Linked DNA regions of Homo sapiens: region 1 is linked to region 2. The links are contacts of gene promoters, found by promoter capture Hi-C in human tissues and cell types (Jung and others, 2019). All regions are on one chromosome and are shown on one strand. The core of a region is centred on a gene start or on the middle of the fragment in contact, and the rest is flanking DNA. Distances in the headings are between cores, read along the strand shown.

Region 1 (4,725 bases), core at 1,921-4,420, 680 kb after region 2:
TCTGTGTAAACAGATTTTTGTTCACATTTGATCATTTCCTTAGGGTCTGTTTCAAAATCTGGGTCAACAGGTATGAGCAATTTTAAGGCTCCAAATTGCTTTTTTAAAAGACTGCACCAATGTAAACTCTCACCAGCAGTGTATGAAGATGTCTGTTTTCACTGCCAAAACTTGGGTATTATTATTTCATTGAGATTTTCATTGGGGTTATGTTAAATCTATAAATCAATTTAGAAAGAATTGTTTTCTTTACAATATTGATTCTTTTCTTTCAGGAAGATAATGTGTCTCTATTTAATTAAATTTTTATTTTATACCTCTCAATGAAGTTTTGTTTTTTTCCTTATGTAAATCCTGCTTATTTATTATCAAGATTAATTCTGAGTATATAATGGCATTTTTCTCCTTTTCTTTTCAGCTATTGTGAATGCCATTCAAAAAAAATTTATATCCTTTACTTTTCCCAAAGTGTGTCCGATAAGCATTCAGCCTTCCAGATGTTCTGTAAAAAACAAAGGGGTTCTGTGTTCAAACTGGTTTGAGAAAGACTATAATCTTCACATGGAAATCTTCATGACACATAAAAACTTGAGAAGTCCTATTGAAAACAAACCTGTTTAACATTATTTATTATTACACCTAGCACCTACCAAACTTATTTGATCATAGACTATTTACTTATGTAAAAAATAAAATTTTAATGTAAAATCTATTATTGTGCAGTAGAGCTGATACAGTTGCCCTGAGTCTAATGTCATGGACTGAAAAATGGCTTCAGTCTCCATTCCTCCCTGGAACTACACCCTTTGCTGTGTAACTGTGGAATGCTCTTCTGCTCTGACTCTGAGCTTGGCCTTGTCATTTGGCCAGTGGGATAGTAGCAAACATAAAGCACAGAGTGGCTTTAAAAGTGGTCTTGCTCGCCAGTGTACTCTTCTATGTCCATGAGAAAGACATGCCTGTGGCACCCTGTTGGAAGATGAGATACTTGGGGCAGAGTTGAGTTATGCTAGTCAACCAAGTTGAAACCCAGTGACATAATCCCCAAACCAGTCACCCTTCTTCATGAGCATGAGCTCAGTGAAGGCTAGAAGAGCCACTCAGCTGGCCTTCAGACTCATAAGCTAAACCAATTATGGTTGATTTAAGCCACTGAGCTTTGGAGTGACTTGTTACACAGCATTATTGAGGCAGTAGATAACTGTTAGGCTCACAGTGAGCAGGTATAATATAGGTAGGTAGTTTAAACTTGATAGTCTTTATTAGCAAGTTCTCTTTCATTGTTATTTTTCCAAATGGTTTTACCAAAAAAATGTTATTGAATAACTTTGGTGGCCACCATTGAGATTATTTTAAGTTTTTCTAATTGATGTGGTATTTTGTATTAATAGACTTCCTAATAATATCATGTCCTGTCCTTCCTAGGATGAGTCATTCTTGGTAACAGTTGATCATTCTTTTAATGTACTATTGAATTCCATATGCTATTATTTTCCTTAGAGACTTAGCATCTATATTCGTAAGTGAAATTAGTTTACAGTTTACTATTTTTGTTCATCTTTTTCATTTTTGGTACAAGACTTATGCCAACTTTATAAAATGACTCAGTTAGCTTTTCATCTTTACCGATGCTCTGGATCAATGTTTATAATATGGAAATTATCTCATCCTTAAAGGACTAGTAGAATTTACTGCTGAAGGCATCTGGTCATGGAAACTTTTGATGGCTTATTACTTACTTAATAGTTTTATTTTACTTTAATTTTTGGTCTTAAGGTCTGATGACTGGTCTTAAGGTCTTCCACTTATTTTTAATTAAATTTTTAGAAATTCACATTACTTTTGTGATGGCCAATTATATACATCCTGTACTTTCTGTATTTTTGGAAGCTCTCTTTCAATCATTTTGGAATCATATCTGATATAATAAATACCAGGCTATTTATTTCAGTAACTGCAATTTAATATCAGACCTAACGTAAATTTCTGTCTTAATATGATCTGATATATCTATGTATAACAGTATGGCTACCTGTGTGGTCATCATGTTTCTAACTTTTTGGTAGTTGGGTAGTGGGAGTCCTGTCTCACAGCAGTTTGATGTGCTGCTTATGATCGGAGAAGACAGGCTGAAGTATTATGGGTTCATAAATGATGGAAATTTGAATACTTCGACATGATTTCTGATCATAGTGTAAAAGAATATTTGAAAGTGAAACTCTTCTAAAAATCCTAGAACTGGATTATCATGTTTATTGGCCTTATGTTATGGTTAACATGGGATTTGAGGTTGAATACATAGTGTTTGAGAGCATGTTTTGCTGACCTGGGCTATTTCCCCAATGGCTTCAAGATAGCAAAGGAAAGGAAGGCAGTTACCAGCCACAAAGCAGGATCTAGCTCTGTGCTCTGCAGCCTCTGCTGAGCTCTGCTAATTGTTCAGTTCTCAGATTTCAGGCACTTTGTTATGCTAGCAGCCATGGTAAATATTTATACAGTGCTTACCATGTGCCAGGCACTACTCTAAGCACTATTATCGTATCATATCATTTTATAATTAGAAAAGGAAGGCACCAAAAGGTTACATAATTTGTCTGGGTTCACCAGTTTGTGAGTGCAGATGTTAAGATTCAAAATCCAGGCAATTGGGCTCCATGCTCTGTGCTGTTAGCCACTCTGCAATGCTGCCTCTAAATCTTTTTCATTTTGCATTTTTTTTTTATCAGTTCACCAGAGTACCTGGCTCAGCGTTGGGCTTTTAGTAGATGTTGGATACTGTAGACTTTTTTATAGATGAGGATAGAAGAAGTGAAGAAAGAGAGAAAACAAGTTGAAGAGGAAAGAGTAACGTGGTGTCATGGGGAGAATTTGTGGATTCTGAGTTGAGACTTTGATTTCAGCTATTAAAAAAATAGAAACAATACAATATCGTTCTCATAGGGTTACAGTGATGGTTTCCTAAGCAAAGGGCCTGACATGAGATTAACACTTCCTGATACTAGTACTAGTGGATCATCATAAATGATGATGACGATGATGACGATGATGAATGATGATCATAAAACCAAGCTCTTCCAGCAATTGGCTGTGTAATCTTTCTCAGGTCGCTTGGCTTCCTGGCCCTCACTTTCTTCATTTATTAGCCAGAGGACAACCTCATGACTGTATGACTGTATTAGTCCATTTTTGCATTGCTATAAAGAAATACTCGACACTGGATAATTTATAAGGAACAGCTCACGGTTCTGCAGGCTGTACGCAAGCATAGAGGCTTCGGCTTGGCTTCTGGGGAGGCCTCAGGAAACTTACAATCATGGCAGAAGGCAAGGAGAAGCAAGCATATCTTCCATGGCCAGTGTAGGAGGAAGAGTTGGGGTAGGTGCTACGCACTTTTAAACAACCAGATTTCAAGAGACCAGCACCAAGGGGATGGTGCTAAGCCATTCACGAAGGATCCATCCACATGATCCAATCACCTCCCACTAAGCCCACCTCCAATATTGAGGATTATAATTGAACATGAGATTTGGGTGGGAACACATCCAAACCATATCAATGACCATGTGATCTGTGACCCACAGAGGAGATTGAGCAGGAGAACACAAGGTAAGGGCTACTGCTGAGTGGGGTATCTGTTTAGAGGATCTGGGGGACTCCCCCTGCATCTGGGCATAAAAGTTGGTGTCTGTCCAGCTCATTTCACTCACTTCAAGGCATCTTGTAGATGGAGAACTGAGCTAGGGTTGAGGGTGGTGTCCATATACCACCCTTCTACATATCACTCAATACCTTTGTGGCTCATCAAGAATAGGGTTGACAGACTGAGCAAACAAAAATCTAGGATGCTCAGTAAAATTTGAATTTCAGATAGGTCATGAATAACTGTTATAAGTATGTCCCAAACATTGTATGGGACATACTTATACTAAACAATTGTTTGTTATTTAGACTCAGTTACCTGGGCTTCTCTGCCTGGTCCAATGTCCACATCTCCCAGATGCGGAGGCTGCGGTAAATCTGCACTGGGCCAACTTGCCCCTTAAGTCAGAGACCTGGGTTCTAAAATCTCTGTCTTCCTTGCTCCTTCTTCTTCTTTGGGAGAAAAGAACAGAATCACTAAATGAGATTTTTTTTGCTGTGAATTGCCAAGAGAAGAGCCTCTCCAGATTCAATAAGGCAATTATTATATCCTGAGTAAAGAACAATTGATTATTCCAAACAAATGTACCAGACTGTGCTTTTACAGAAATCTGTATCTATAACCTGTTGTAGTTGTTAAGTCAGAAGTAAATACATTCTTAATAACCAACTGGTATTTATTTAATGTACAATAACTTGCCTGCTAAGCTTAAATGAAATGCACAGTTAATTAAAACTATTTCTGTACTAAGTCCTCCAGGGAAAATATTTTACACACACTCTGAGTTGGGATTTTTTTTCACCTTCACTTCTCAACCCAGCCCCTGTTGGTAGCTTTTAATTTGATATGTTTAGAGGTCTGCAGATTTTTTTTTGGGCAATTCTCATCCTCCTCAGGGATATAGAAACTCTAAACTCTACTTATTTATCCAGAGTTCAGGAATCTTCAGGGAGACCTCAAGGTGAGACTGCATGGGTTGGTGCCCCACACCTTGCTTCCACTTGGAGGTGGCGGTTGTATCTAAATATACCTACTCACTCAAGGTTAAACTGGGCCTTTCACTTTGCCTCTCTGAACTTGAGTTT
Region 2 (4,896 bases), core at 1,528-4,027:
GGGTTCTCTCTTTCCTTAGTACTGAGAAAAGTGATAGACTTAATGGAGAAAGGGTGGGGGGCTACAAATGAAGCTCAAGAGACTGGCATTGTCCCCCTCCCACACCCCACAGTCAGGGACCACTGGGGGTGGAAGGGGCAGGGATGGGGTCCTTCAGAATACACGCTCACTAATTCTTTCGCTCAGTCCTTCACCCGTCTCAGGCCCACATCAGTTCTCTGCCTATCCTATACGTACTTACCTGTTGTGTGCCCAGAACTACCCCTTAGCTAGCTTCCCTACCTGCACATCATTTGAGGGTTACCTAATCCCCAAGCCGGCCCAAGGAGTCAGACACAGTCTCCTCTCCTCCTTCCTTTGTTGCCCCAAAGACAAGGTCCCAGCCCTCTTATGTTAGGATTGGGTTGCTAATCACTGCAGCAGAATAGTAATGAAAATTTCTTGGAGCTGTGGTTCCTGACTCCTGCTGAGAGAAACTGTTGTAAGGGACAGGATCCCAGTGGCTTAGAATGAGCCACAGGTGGGGTTTGGAGTGCCTTTTCCTTTCCCGTAAAAACAAAGACAAGCCAAGAGGCACCCTCAACTCCTTTACAGTGCTTTTTCTACACATCATTGGTGCCTGTGGACCCTAAGGGCTTCTCATTCTGTGCGCTTCTGCTGTGTCTTGGAGCAATGTCTCTGGGCTCCTGTTTACAGGGTTTCCCCATGGCTAGGCAGAAGGTACTGGGGTTAGTGCTTCTACATCAGGGTCGCCACAAATCCTGCTAGGGACAGTTGAAGGGGCCTAGAAGGACTGCAAGGGTGTTGCTCTTGGTATATACTCTGCTGCCCTATCTTCTGCAGTCAACGGCTACCGGAGAACTCCTCCAGCTTCCATAAGCAAGGGATGACAAGGGAGTGTCTGGATTGCCTGGGGTTCAGGCCTCCGGGTTTAAACAACTTTCAAGTAATCTGGTAAACTTGGGTGCCCCCCTGTGGTTCTGAGTGGAATGTGTCCATTTTGCCTTCAGGGAAGGCGATCAGGTTAGCAGGGGACATCCTCTGTCACCTTGCTACTCAGTGTGCTTTGACCCACCCACCACCGGCAGCATCTCAGGGCTCATTCCAGACCTACTTTATTGGAGTCTACTTTGAACAAGATCTACATGTTACAGTTTGGAAGGCACTGCTCTGGCAGCCCCTAAGATGGCCATAAAGCCCTCCTCTTCTCACTCCCTGCACCAAAGACCATGCAGCTCCCAGGCAGAGTTGACTCTCCTTAGGGACTAAAGAGGAAGATTAGGTCACATCCCATTTCCATACCCCTAACCACTTCCCAAGGTGTGCTTTTCCCAAAACAGTATGCTTGGTTCTCCCTTGAGCTTTGGATCAACCTCTTCAAACCCAGGCATCACGGCTGAGGGCAGTGAGTTTGAAGTGACTCATCCTTGTCCTCACAGAGCTCATGACATTCATTTTTTTCAAGCTTATTTGGTCCAGTCCATGGCATGTACAGCAGAAGGCCTAAGCTGTGCACGGTGCTGCTCGCTCCTTGCCACGGTAACTGAACCCCTGTTGTAGAGGAAATGGGCCTGTTTATATAAGCACCTGTTATGGGATTAACCCCAAGAGTGTTGGTCTGAGTCTCAGTTTTTTCCAACCCTTCTGCACTGTGCCTCCATACAGATTGCTTCTCTAAACCATCTGGCTTTAAGTTAAACTTCTCTGAGCAGCTTGGATTTCCCCACAGCAATGGATCTTTTTGCATGGATCTGGATTCCATTTAGGGGCCCTGCAAAATGTTGAATTAAAGATCAGGAGCCCTGGTCTCTACTTCTTCCTCTGCCCCCAACTACCTCTGTGACCTCAGGCAAGTTGCAAATAAGTGTGTTCATACCTGCCCTGCCTTTGTCAAAGGATGGCGTGGCTGATGAAAAGTGTGTGCCTAGAAGCTTTGCGAGCTACGAAGCACTTTCGGTAACTCTGAACCATTTTCAAAATGTATATGAAAGTGATTGCTATTGAAACTTAAGATAATTTGCAGATGAAACCTAAGCATCTTTCTAATGCTCAGGAATGCTTGCAAGAAGGCAAAAATCCAACAGTTGAGATGTACTTGGGGAGTCAGTCCCTTCTCCAGAGGGGATGATCATCTTTCTAGAATCTTTACAGGGTTGGTGTGAGTGTGTGTTGTTGGCAGACAGGGAGTGCTCGCATGTAGTTAAACGGTTGCCTCTCTCTCTCTCTCTCTCTCTGTGTGTGTGTGTTTGTGAAACTGGTATCTGGTTAGGCCCACATGAGCTGTCTTATGTGTCTCTCTGTGCAGTGCCGTGTGTGTCATTCAGCTGTTAAGCGTTGAGAGACCTGGGTTCTGGTTTGGTGACCTTGAATAAATCCCTCAGACTTTCCAAGCCTGTTTCCTTATTTGTAACTTAGTGGTTTGTCCCTTCCAACTTGCGTACAGCTTGGAGGGGGGGGCCTTCACTACTGATTTCACTGTCTAGTTTGGTTTCTGGGTCTCTGTTCCAGTGGGCCAGCCACTCTTTGCTGGCGCCTCCCTGTGCCAACTTCTGTACCTGAATTGTTGCTCACTGAAGAGCTGGCATTTAGCTTTTTGGAAATTGTCTCTAACTCACTGGAAATGCAGGAAGCTTGAGTATAAAACTCACTCAGAAAAAAAAAAAAAAAAGAAAAAAAAGAACACACACTCAGAAGAAACCGCAGGGCCTATCAGCCTGTCGTCATCGAGCAGACTAGAATAGTATAGAAAACCCTAGGCAGAGAGGAAATGAACTTCAGAGAAGGGAAACACACGGCTAAGAAGAGAGAGGCAAGGGCAGGAGTGAAGGAGAGAGCTGAAGCCTGGGGCTCCGAGATGGTCAGAGGATGGGAGACGGGGCAGTGAAACAAGGCTTCTTGTATCTTCAGCAGCAGCAGACGTTTGGAAAGGTAGGAGTGAGGCTGGGCTGGGGTTGGGCAGGGGGCCTGGGAGGCTGCTAGAATTCCTGGGTTGGAGAGGGAGTTTCATATTCAAAACCCTTATAGGTCTGACTGTGCACCCACCAAGTTAGACCCAGAGCTCAACTTTGGGAGGGCTCTTTTCCTACCCGACGCTGTCTCCTGAACCAGGCCCCAACCAGGTCCCAAACTGTGCTCCTTACTGAGGGCTGTTTGCCCTGGGTGGGGGTGGGGGATGTGCTGCTTTCATCTCTTGCCTCTTTTGCTCTCTTGCTCTATGTTGACTTCTTTTCACCGGACACCTTGGAAGGGAATGGAAGGGGCAGCTGGAGGGACAGTTTAGGATGACAATAGAGGTTCCTTCCCAACCCCAGTGGGGTGCATGTGGCTGGTGTTCAGCTTGGGCTGGGGCCTCTGGGGGCCTGGACCCCAGCCGGCTGTCCATCCTCTTTCCCCTTCCCTGGCCTCCTTGAACCAGGAAGTCCTCGTCCCCTAACCAACACTGGGGGGCACACCTGTCTCTCTCTCATGGCCCAACCTATCAAGGAATGAGGCAGCAAGGTTCAGGAGGGTGGAGAGAAGTTCTCCTTCAGGATTTCGCACAGAAGGAGAATGAGGTCTCCAGCCCGGGTCACACGCCGCCCTCCTCACTCCCTCCTCTGGGCCTCGGCCACTGCCCCGCTTTCCTCCCCAGACTGGAGTCCACTGCGGTGGGCCTGTTTGGCCTTCTTGCAGCCTGCTTTGGGCTCATCCCGGCGTTGCTTTCTGCCTGGGCAGTCTCTGCTCTTGCTCGTGGGCCTCCTTCTCGGGGCTGGCGGCTGATCTCCGATTTTCTAATTCCTGCAGTCACTGTCCTCTTCTCTGCCTCCCTGGGTCTCATGTGATCTTCACCTCTCTCTCCCCATCTCCAAGTGGCTGCCCCAGTCCCCCTCCCACGGTTCCTCTTCTCCCCTTGGCTCACGATCTCCCCGTCTCTGGGTGGCTCCCTCCCGCCCCCGCCTCCCACGCCTCTGGCACAGAAATGGCGCCGCTTCGGCGCCTCACTGTATGGAGGGTCGGACTGCGCCTTGGCCCGGCTGGAGCTGCAGGAGGGCCCGGAGAAGCCTCGTCGGTGTGAGGCTGCCCGGAAGGTCATCCGCCTCAGTGACTGCCTGCGGGTGGCCGAGGCCGGCGGAGAGGCCAGCAGCCCCCGGGACACCAGTGCCTTCTTCCTGGAGACCAAGGAGCGCCTGTACCTCCTGGCGGCCCCTGCAGCGGAGCGCGGCGACTGGGTGCAGGCCATCTGCCTCCTGGCCTTCCCCGTGAGTCGCGCGGGGTGCGGAAAGGGCAAGGGGGCGTGCAGGCCGAGGGTGTTAGATACTTCCTGTGGGCAAGTGTTACAGGTGTCAAGGTCAGGGTGATGGGGTGCTTCCTCCATGTGGGGGGACCCGAACCCAGTGTGCAGACAGAGCCAGCAGGTTGAGGTGGCCTGAAAGAAGGCCTGGGCCAGAGGGGGGCCTGGGGATCGGGGAAGGTGATGAGACGGGGCGCCTCCTCCCTAGGGGCAGAGGAAGGAGCTCTCGGGGCCAGAGGGAAAGCAGAGCCGGCCCTGCATGGAGGAAAATGAATTGTACAGCAGCGCAGTCACAGGTGAGGGGGCGGGGGCTGCCCTGCTCTCCCCTGGGGGCTCTCCCCAGGGTGAGGTGGAGAGGAGGTGTGGGCTGGCTAGCTGCTGGCCCCGAGTCTTCCTGCCTTGTGGTTATCCCCAGCCTGGGCCAGCCCCGTTATCAGCCTCTCCTTCTCGCTTCCGGGTGCAGCCCAACGTAGGGAGCCTACCCTGCCTTGAGTCTCTCCCTTGGTTCACCTCATCTTACCTAGGGCCTGCTGGTGGGAGAGGGGAAGGCTGGGGGCCCAGGTGAGGGTGCTGCTTTTTTCTATTTTTGAGACGGAGTTTTGCTCTTGTCGCTCAGGCTGGAGTGC

Evidence for each region. Contacts are between HindIII fragments. The study calls those that stand out against the background at their distance.
Region 1: a contact is called between a fragment that was not itself captured here and the fragment with the promoter of DOK2 in region 2, in 1 of the 25 tissues and cell types used here (dorsolateral prefrontal cortex).

What each region holds. Positions count from the first base shown.
Region 1 is chr8:21,232,244-21,236,968 of GRCh38, reverse strand. No RefSeq gene overlaps it. Among named protein-coding and RNA genes, the nearest start is that of LINC03093, 64 kb to the left of the region's middle. The HindIII fragment of the contact is 3,534 bases long and covers 1,404-4,725 here.
Region 2 is chr8:21,911,571-21,916,466 of GRCh38, reverse strand. It overlaps DOK2 (docking protein 2), which reads left to right and starts at 2,777. Exons shown (of 5, transcript NM_003974.4): 1 at 2,777-2,928; 2 at 3,957-4,238; 3 at 4,479-4,566. The coding sequence starts at 2,866. RefSeq lists an enhancer at 4,760-4,859. The HindIII fragment of the contact is 2,220 bases long and covers 1,699-3,918 here.